3 separate regions of the Homo sapiens genome follow, and regions 1 and 3 are each linked to region 2. Evidence: promoter capture Hi-C in human tissues and cell types (Jung and others, 2019). All regions are on one chromosome and are shown on one strand. The core of a region is centred on a gene start or on the middle of the fragment in contact, and the rest is flanking DNA. Distances in the headings are between cores, read along the strand shown.

What was found. Contacts are between HindIII fragments. The study calls those that stand out against the background at their distance.
Region 1: a fragment that was not itself captured here is called in contact with the fragment with the promoter of APCDD1 in region 2 in 6 of the 25 tissues and cell types used here (IMR-90 fibroblasts, adrenal gland, dorsolateral prefrontal cortex and 3 more).
Region 3: a contact is called between a fragment that was not itself captured here and the fragment with the promoter of APCDD1 in region 2, in 2 of the 25 tissues and cell types used here (lymphoblastoid cells and mesenchymal stem cells).

Annotation. Positions count from the first base shown.
Region 1 is chr18:10,517,349-10,520,693 of GRCh38, forward strand. No RefSeq gene overlaps it. Among named protein-coding and RNA genes, the nearest start is that of NAPG, 7.0 kb to the right of the region's middle. The HindIII fragment of the contact is 4,990 bases long and covers 1-3,345 here.
Region 2 is chr18:10,452,939-10,456,139 of GRCh38, forward strand. It overlaps APCDD1 (APC down-regulated 1), which reads left to right and starts at 1,697. Exons shown (of 5, transcript NM_153000.5): 1 at 1,697-2,101. The coding sequence starts at 2,044. The HindIII fragment of the contact is 8,431 bases long and covers 1-3,201 here.
Region 3 is chr18:10,369,435-10,372,723 of GRCh38, forward strand. It overlaps LOC105371986 (a long non-coding RNA gene), which reads right to left. Exons shown (of 3, transcript XR_001753347.1): 1 at 2,793-3,289; 2 at 1,912-2,020. Among named protein-coding and RNA genes, the nearest start is that of LINC01254, 43 kb to the right of the region's middle. RefSeq lists an enhancer at 1-120. The HindIII fragment of the contact is 3,061 bases long and covers 255-3,289 here.

The DNA of each region.
Region 1 (3,345 bases), core at 314-2,813, 64 kb after region 2:
GCATTTAGTATGTTTATCTATTGCTGCTTAACAAGCCATCTCAAAGCTCAATGGATTAAAACAGTATTATTGTATCTCCTGATGATGTGGATGGAAAATTTGGACAGGGCACAGTCAGAGGAGCTCCACTCAGCTTCACGGTTGGAAGCTTTGCTGGGACGGCTCTAATGGCTGCAGCTGGGAGATGCGGGGCAGCTGGCCATTGCTTCTCTGCTCATAGACCTCTACCGGGGTGGCTTGAGCTTCCTCACATCATGGCAGCCTCAAGGGAGTTGCACTGTTCAGGGTTCCAAGAGCTATTTCATGTTTTGAGAGATGGGAAGTGGGAGCTGCCTGTGCCTTGAAGATTGGGCCCTGAGACTGGCACAGTATCACATCCTTGTTCTTTTGGTCAAAGCAGTCACAAAACCCACCTGCATTCAAGAGGATGGGACAGAGTCCCCCTCTCAATGGAAGAGGGTCAGAGATTTGGCTGCCATTTTTAATCCACCACATTATTATTCTTCCCATTTTATAGGAGAAGAAACTGAAGCTCAAAGAAACCAGATAATATATGTCTTTAAATAACATAAGAAATACTGCTGAGGTTTGAAAGTATGACTGACTCTAATCCATTTTTCTTTCTAGTATACAGCCCCGCTCTCTTAAAATGTGGACATTTGATCTTCTAAGATAAGACTTTTTGAGCCACAAGCTACTCTTCTGATTGGATGTAGAACAAAACATAGCAAGTCATCGTCCACGTTCTTTCTAAACTTTGCATCGTTGAATGAAGAGGCCCTATCTAATAAGCTGTAGAACTGAACACTCCTCTTCAGTTTGAGAGGCTGTTCAAGGTAAAAGAGAGGGAAAAATGGAAGTGAATAAAATCACAAATTTAAACGATAAATACCTGGCTTGGGGAAGCTTTTTTCCCCAGAGGATAGAAATATATTTACATTATGAAATAAGTTGGAATCCAATGGAAACCCCTTGTTATTATTAGATTTCCTCTTGAGAAGGATTTATAAATGAAAACACAACTTGCTATTTTAGTATTTTGTTTTTCAGGGAAGAAAAACCCTTTGCAAAAACAAATTTAGAAGAAAAAACTTATCCATTTCAAGCTCTTGTTTATTTTCTTATTTACCAGGCTAAAACTGTCTTCTTTCATCTCTGATTATGTTGGGAGCTGGAGAAAAGAGGGTTTTTATTTTGTTTTGTTTGCTTTTTTCCTTTTCTCTAAATCTGGAAGGTCTCTTTTCATTTGTGGGCAGTGCTAAACCTTTCCTTATCCACAACTGCGTTTCTGAATCCACAGCCTCCTCCAGCCGTAACTGTGACCCAAGGGCTCCACGCAGTGGGGGATAGGAAATGAAGGATGAGGGCAGTCACATGTGAAACGGCTGCAGTGTTCATCTGTGATCTGGTGGCCCCACTGAACAACAGTGGCCATGACCCCGCTGTGCACCTGCTAGCACACAGCTCCATGCTCCTTTGCCATGTGTCCCTCCATTAGGCTGTGATTCCTCCTCCTCAGCTCCACAGGAATCTGGAAAATAAGGGTCCTGTGGCTGCTTTTGCAATCCTAGTACACTTTGAGAACGTCATGTTCCAGTAAGCTTTATATAACGTTCTAGACCATTAGAGCCTTTTCAGCTTCCTTATTAACATTTATTCATTTCTAATTACACGAGTAGAGGGAAGTTGCAAGAAATGTGTCCCTGAAGATTTTCAAACTTAATGCAACCATTGCATAATTTTAATCCAATCTTCACAAAGGGAGTCATGTGTTGCTTTTCTAGCCAAGTCACCCTTGGCCCCTGCAACCTCGTCACCTCCCCATTCTCCCCTGGAATGTGGGGCCAGGCGCCCGCATACTCTGCCTCACAAATTTGCTATTCCTTCTTTATCGGCAACTATCTTTGTCCAGATATCCCAGGTCTCAGGCCACCACTCCTTCAGAGCTTTATTTCATTGTCACCTACCTGGTGAAGAAACTCACCCCACACTCACGGGTGCCCTCCCATTCCCACATCCTGCTTTGTTTTCCTGAGTGTTGACCCCCTCTAGCACTGTGTCTACACCGCCTTAGCCAGTTTCCTACTGGACTCCACAACCCCACCCATATGCCCTGTGCTAGAATGTCAGCTCTGTGAATCCCTGCTGCATTCAGGGCTGTCTCCCAGAGCCTAGAACAGTGCCTGCATGGAGAAACCATTCCACACATACTTGTTGAATGAGTGCCTAAAGAATGAATAGCATAAACCCAGTCCACAGCTCTTTATTCCTGGCAGCTTCCAAACGTGCACTTCTTGAGGAATTCTTAATTTGGAAGACATGTTATTTAAAAAAATTCATTAATGCAGTTTGTGAATGAGTAATTCACAAACTTCATTAATGAGTCATGTTTTATGTTGTATTCTTTCAATTTTGCCTACTTTATATTTGTACAAAATGTAACTGCGTGAATATATCCTCCTTGAAAGAAAATGATTGCTGTATATCTATGGGATGTGGTTTTCAAGAGAGAACATTTATAGGTTGGCACTAGGCTATCTGCAAGTGGTCTAATGAAATACATGACGGGTTTCCACTAAGCCAATTCAGTGTGTTGGTTTTATCTTTTATTCAAAGATAGCTTGCAAAGGAAGATCTGTATTTTTCTCTCTCTTTAAAAATAATATTCATCAAAACGGTTGTGTTCGTTAGAGTGGATTTAACAGAGATCTGTTGTTAAACATTTACAATGCTTCATCTCTTTCCAACATTACTGTACTCGGACAATGCTGCCTCACTTTGTGTACAAAACAGTGAGAGAGATCGCTTTTATGTGGAAAGTTCAGTTATGAATGCGAAATGTTGCCAGAATCTGACTGTAATCCCAAGAGGCAGAAACTAACCACTTTTGTTTGGACGGCTTGCAGCTTGTAAAGGCACGTGCAGGCAGCGCCACCATGTGTTTTCTGAAGAGACCCATAAGGCTACGCGGGAGAAGGAATGAACGCCAGGACTCTCCCCAGCCAACGTATACCTAAGTGGGACTTCTCAGTATAATATGCTTGGCGCATCTGTTAGGGGTGGCCCTTTCTCAGCCATTTGACAACTTACTTCAGTCAAACCTAATAAACTTCCAACTCTCATTTTCCAATTATTATTAAAATTTCAAAGCAGGTAGGTGTAAAGTACCAGGTATGTAGTAAACTGACTATTTTTTCCCCCATAAAAACATTTGAAAATTAATAATTGGTCCATACAACTAAGCAGCGGTGTTGCGTGAGTGGTTATTAAACTATTACAAAATAAGGACCATTTTCTGGTCCATTATAGTGGGCCAAGTATAAATTTGGAGTCAGATGGGTCTGG
Region 2 (3,201 bases), core at 447-2,946:
AGGTACAAAGTCAGGCTCAGAAAGATGTGGCAGAGCAAGACTAACACAAAATAATGCCTGCGCTCATAGGCATCGTTTTCATGATCTTCTTTTTGCCCACACAGGTATTCTTTCATCTTCAAGATTTGCAAACAGGAGCACATTAATCTTCACAACATCCGTGTGAGCTGAGCAGCTGGTACATCTTATGATCCTCTGTATTAATGATGGAAAGATGATAATGATGGTGATAAAAATTAAGACACATCAAACAGCGTCAGCACTATCACATCAAAACACCCATGGATTTCTCAGGTTAAAAAAAAAAAAAGAAAAGTGGAAACTGTCAAATGTATTCTCATCTATTTTACTATTATACCGTTGCTAAGATCCAACTACTTTTGAAAGTCTAACACATAAGGAGTTGAATTATTGCATTGTTCAAAGGGGCAGAGAATTCTCTTGGGAAATCAGGCATTTATTTTAATCTTTTTTTTAAATGAAAAACACTAACGGTTGCGTCAAGAAATGTTCTCTAGACTCCACTGGGTCTCCTGTCTGCTCTTTATCCTAGTGTGGAGAAGAGGTGACATTAACCTTAGGAGGGGGAAAACTGCTGGAAGAGGGGAAGGGCTCAAGCAGGCCCTTGGCAGAGGAGGGACCTTCCAGGTAAATCAGATGGCCACTGCCTTGTACCCGCATTGGAGAACGAAGGACCCCAGGGGAAACTCTTCCTGCCTTTGGGTCTCAAACGCCCATGTAGTCCCCCCTCCCCCACAAGACCGCGAACACAAATAAAATCAGCTTTGATTGTGGTGATTCAATTTGCTCTGGAAGAGAAGAGGACTCGGCGAAGGGGCCTAAGTGCACGTTCTTAGACTGACAGGGAGCGTTTCTCGGAGATTTCTCCCGTTTCAACAAGTCATTTGCCTAGTGGAAGGGGGAGGAAAAAGTGAACGGGCTCCTGCCTCCTACACCGTGCCCTTCCCAGGTTGGGGCCTATGACAAGGTTCTCCGTGCTCCCCAGAGGAGCCAGGCACTGGGCCGGGGTAGGCGATTTGTAGTGAAGACCTGCACCGCACCCACGAGGGGGCCCAGCACTGACGCATCCTCACCCCCAGCAACCCTCCAGGACTCTCTCTTTGGTCTCCCCTCTCTCCCATGGCTGCGCGCTGGCACACACCCCGGCTCAGCAGGCCGCTTTGCTTGGATCCCACGCCAGGCCTCCAGCCTCGCCGCCCGCACCCCCTTTGAACACCTTTCCCCAGGGGAGTGGGCGGAGGCGGAAGGGTGACCCGCGCATTCTCTTTCCTTGCGGGCGGGGTGCGGGGCCAAAGGCTCCCACCCCCTCCAAGGAGGAAGCGCGCCCGGAATGGGGGACGGGGAGGAGAGAAAGGGGTGCGCAGAGCCAGAGGGAGGCAGAGGGGCCTGGAGGGAGGAGAGGAGGAGGGGAGGATGGAAGGGGTAGGAAGCTGGAAGAGGAGGGGTAGGCGAGAGAGGGGAAGGAGGGAAGCGGGAGGGGAGCGGGGGGAGGAGGGGCGCCCGGAGTGGGAGGAGGGGAGGCGTTGCCCGACGCGCCCTTTCAAGTCTCCGCGCTCCCCCCCGGCGGCGGCTGCCCGGGGGCGGTGGCTCGGCGTCGCCTCCCCCGACCGCCCCCTCCAGGGCCCCTCCTCCGTGCCGCGGCCAGGCTGCCCGGCCGGCGGCGCGCTGGAAATATGAAGAGACGCTGCAGCTGCGGTGGCGGTGGCGGCCACTGCAGCTCAGAGCGGCGCACGCGGCGGCCGGGGCGGGACGCGGGGCCGGGCGCGGAGAAGTCGGGGCGGGCGGCAGAGAGGCCGGGACGCGGACCGGGCCGGGGCGCCCACAGCCGCCCGACGGCGCCCAGAGAGCGCGCGCCCCGCAGCCCCGCGCCTAGCCCGCCGGGCATGGGGCGCGCGGCAGCCGCCTGAAGCCCCGGCCTGGCCCGGCCGCACCCGGCCGGAGGCGGAGGGCAGAGCGCGCGCCCAGTTGCCCGGGCACCAAATCGGAGCGCGGCGTGCGGGAGGCCCCAGAGCAGGACTGGAAATGTCCTGGCCGCGCCGCCTCCTGCTCAGATACCTGTTCCCGGCCCTCCTGCTTCACGGTGAGTTCCCGAGGGCCACTCGAGCGCTCCCAGCCGGCGGAGGCAGCCCGGGCGCCGCGGAGCCCGCGGAGGCGTCGGGTCTGGATCGCGGCACGGCCTACACTGTCCCCTTGGCGGGGCGGGTCCGAGGGGAGCCCCGCGCCTGCCGTCTCAGCCCTGGGAGAGGGGGCTCTGCCCACTTTCCGAGGCTTGGGACCGCTCTCCCCCAGGGCGCCCGGAGCTCTTTGCTGCGGGACTGTTCTTTTTGGAAGGGTGGAAGCTCTCCCACGCAGACACCTTTTATGTCCAGAATCCGTTGCATCCAGTCCGAGGGAAACTTTCGTCCGCTCTGCTGGATTTTCCAACTGTACACTGCCATGAAATCGCCGGCTCTGCGAGCCTTTTTCCAAAATGCCAGAATGCAGCAGGCTCTTGATGTGTTCCAAGCGTTTAGGAGAGTGGAAAGAGAAACTGATCATTTGGGAAAGACACGTCTGTCTGCCTTCTGAAAACTAGTGTTTGTTGTCTGCCTGCACTTTGCCTCGCGATTGAGGCGGGGTTGTGGGGTTTTCTCCCAAGTGGACTGTTGCGTTCTCTGGGTGTAATTTTAAGAAACAGGGGACCCCTATTAGCCAAGATTTAATCATTATTACCAGTCTCCCAATGTGCACCCCAACTTGACGTCCCATTTCCTGGGCTTCCAGTGCCACTTTTCCCCAGGGGTTCTAGTAAACCTTTAGCTAGAGAACATCAGCCCTTTCAGCGGGTTCCAGAAATTGCGCTGAAAACACCAAGACAGAATTTCTTTGGGGTGGACAAGGCAGGTTTTATGGCGCGTCGGGTTCATAATCCTGACAAGCCGTGGCAGATCACGTCGTGTTGATGTGGATGTCCTGAGCAAACTGTCCCTAATGGTCAGACACCTGACGTTTCAACAGCATGACTTCACGGCTCTCCTTCCTCAACACCCACCACAGCCACCCCAAACCTGTAGCGGGCTCCGGCTTCAGAATGCATGGTAGCCAGGACTGAAAGTCAGGCTGAGGACCTTCCCTCCGGAGGATCAAGGAAAGGGAAGAATTGTTAACCCACAAGCCACCGGGATGCTGTTTTCTTTGTAG
Region 3 (3,289 bases), core at 535-3,034, 83 kb before region 2:
GGGAAGTAAGGCATAAGCTATTCCAGAAACCTCACAGAATCCTTTGTGATGTCGGCTCCCAGCCTGCTCAGGGATAATTTTTGTCACCTCTCGCCTTCATGTCCCAAGCCTGTGTCCCTCCAGCTTAGTGCATTGTGTGATTGTCTTTCCTGAAGCCTCTGCCAAATGGTTTTTGAACCAAAGCTGCTCTTGCAGGTCCAGGGCTTCGGTGAGCTCATTCCAGGCCTCAGAGGACCATCACATAAAAGTGGCCTGGCTTCCAGGTCTGACACCCCTTTCGATCCGAGTGAGCACTGGGGAGACTGCTGGCTCATGCCACAAACCTCCACTCCTAACCCACAGAGGAGTCTGTTAGCACCCACACCCCACATGATCCCCAGAGAGGGAAAAAGATTCTGTGCCCATAGCTCTTGAGACCCCAGAGGCTGGGATGGGAGCTGAACCCTGTGGGAAGGGAGGGTGCAGACTGCCCCCTCCAACAGCCCTGGGAGCCCCTAAAGTTTGCATCCTGCCGTAAAGTCCTTACAACTCCAGTCAAAAACACAACTGCCTCAGAAAATGTTTGCATTAATACTGAAGAGAAAACCCACTTTCAGTTTTTTCTCAAACTTTTAAAATCTCAAAGCTTCCAACTTTTCTGAGCATGATTCTAACAAGCTTTACTCAGTTTACATCAAAGTGGGTGGTAAAGTCCAGAGAGCGCTGTGTGAGTTGCTATTATTTATCATGTTCACTTTTGTTTTTAAATTACTGAAAGTCACTGACTTTGAGTCTAAAAAACTCTAAATATTCATTTAGAAATATTGCTCAGTTTAAATTTCTTAATATCTAAAGTCACCTAATATACTATTTAAAAATATGATTAATGCCAAAGTTAGTCTTTATGATTAAAATATTTAACATTTCTTAACATTTTTCTAGAGATCAAATCATTTCAATTGTTCCATATGTGCTGAAAAATGTGAAATAAAGCCCAGGTTTAATATATGTCCATGAGGCCAAACTTCTGCACTGTGTTTTTCAAAATTTTAAATTGTCAATACATTTTATCTGCTTTATCTAACAATAAAAATAAATAAGTAAATAGGAAGTCAAAAGGCAAGTTTTAATTTAAAAAAAGGCATTCTATTAGAAAATTCAAAAGTTTGACTTATGCCATTCAAGGATAAAAATGATTAGAGGTACGTGAAAGGGGACCGAAAAAAAAAAGAATAAAAATGATATCCCTGTACAAATCACATGATGTATTTGAGGGCTGATCTAATAGAATTAGTCAGGAGAAGACAGAGATAAAAAGAAACTGTGTCTCTTCTAACAAATGAAAGTAGACTAATGGATAAAATAAGGCAGATGATCAGTTGAACCTTGGAGTTCTCTGGTTCAGTCTTTGGGGAGTGAAGTCATCTGTGCCTGAGGCGTGTGCCCATCCCATGTTGGGAAAGCTCTAGAGGCCAGAGACCAAGCTCTGAACAACCTTTCTGGCTTTTAGACTCTGGGCTCTCGAATTCCAAGAGTGACAGTGACACGACTGATTTTTGAAACCAACGTTTCCAGAGCTACAGTAAAAGCAGTTTAAGAAATGTCGCGAGATTTTAATCTGGTTACACATTTGTCGTCAGTTATGACTTAAGGACCCATTTGTGGATTTCAGATCCTGGCAGCCTGTGGGCATGTGTCTGCAAATGCACGTGAGCTGAGCATAGAGGCACACTCCCAGGGCAGGTCACAGGCAAATAATTGTTCTTTAAACTAGCTTCGAATAGATAGCTTTTCTTTCTTTTTGGAACAATGTAAGGTGAAGTTATTTGAGAAGTGGTTTAGGCTTCCGTAAAGATTATAGTAACCAATGAAGAATTCACAATAGGAATATCTATCAGAACACACTACTTAACTCCAGCTGCTAAGACCCACCTATCTGCAGTGCTTGAAATGTTAATGAACAGCCCTTAATTGACCGCTGTGCCTGGAGTTCCACACCTAGCTCATTCCATTTATTCTGCAGAGGCCATTTTGAGCTGTGCTTTAAAGACAGAAAAAGTATAGATTTTAATTTTTTACCTATTTAAATGCCTCATCATGGCATGTAAACATTTAGGGGACTTGTACATTGCACATGTCACACTCATCACTGATAGCAATTGAGCAGGAGCTGCCTCCCCTGCCCCAGCAGGGTCCCGAGCCCTTGACACAAGGCCCCAAGGAAGGACTCAGCACACCAGCTGTAATTTGTAGAAACAAATGAAATCACTCCTTATTATTTCCTACCTCCCCACCCCAAATACCAGGCCGTGTCAGGCATCGCCACTTAATCCAGCAGGAGAGACTGTGGGATTGCTGGCTGCAGGGCCCTAGCAGTGGCCCAAACAGTTAAAGAGGAGATGGAGTTCACTGCTCTTCTTCTGAACAGAAAGTCAGGGCTTCAAGATTTCAACAAACATTAGCATTACTCATTTAGAGCTGAGCCTAATTCCTAAACGTGATCGGCACTAGCTTGACATGCGTCACACCAATTTTAACCACACTTCAATTTGGAGGGAAGTAAAAAACAAATAACATCTTAATAATATTGAACTGAAACATAACTTGGCTAGAAAACGAAGATGTTACTAGAGATTTTATACATATATACATATTTCTATGAAACAGAGATATGTAGAATTTCAATGTTAAACTTCTTTAAAAGATGAGCCTTACGAATGGCCACCGCCCATCCAGCCTCACAGAATCTTTGTGAATAACACTTGGAGGCAATTAATTCTCAACTGGAAGTACTGTCATCAAGTTTTAATTACCTTCTGGATAGCAAATCTCAGCAGACACTTTTCGGTCCTTTTTAACACCTTCTGCAATATTTGACACTCCTAGACACCTCCAATTTGACATTCCAGCCTCCCTTGACTTTGGTGGAACGTTGCTTTTCTGGGCTCACAGATCCCAGCCCACTTTGCGGTCTTCTGTTCCTGGGTCCATGTCATAAAATGTTGGGATTCATTATGACTTCATCTGTGGCCTTATTTTCTCACAGCATCCAATCTTTCTGTGTGATTTGGTTCAACCCCCTGGCTTCTGCTGCCACCTGAGAGCTAATAACTCTCTTCTGGGCATGACAGACCCTCCCCTAACGCTCACTGGGTCCCCTTCTTGGGTGTCTCCAAAACACTTCGAGTCAAGCATGTCAAAACGGAACACGTCCTCCTGCTCCATAAACTGGCTTTCCATGCATTTTCCCTCTTATGGATAACCTCACCGCCTTCCCCCATTTACCTAATGCAGAAGCCTCAGAGGTTTC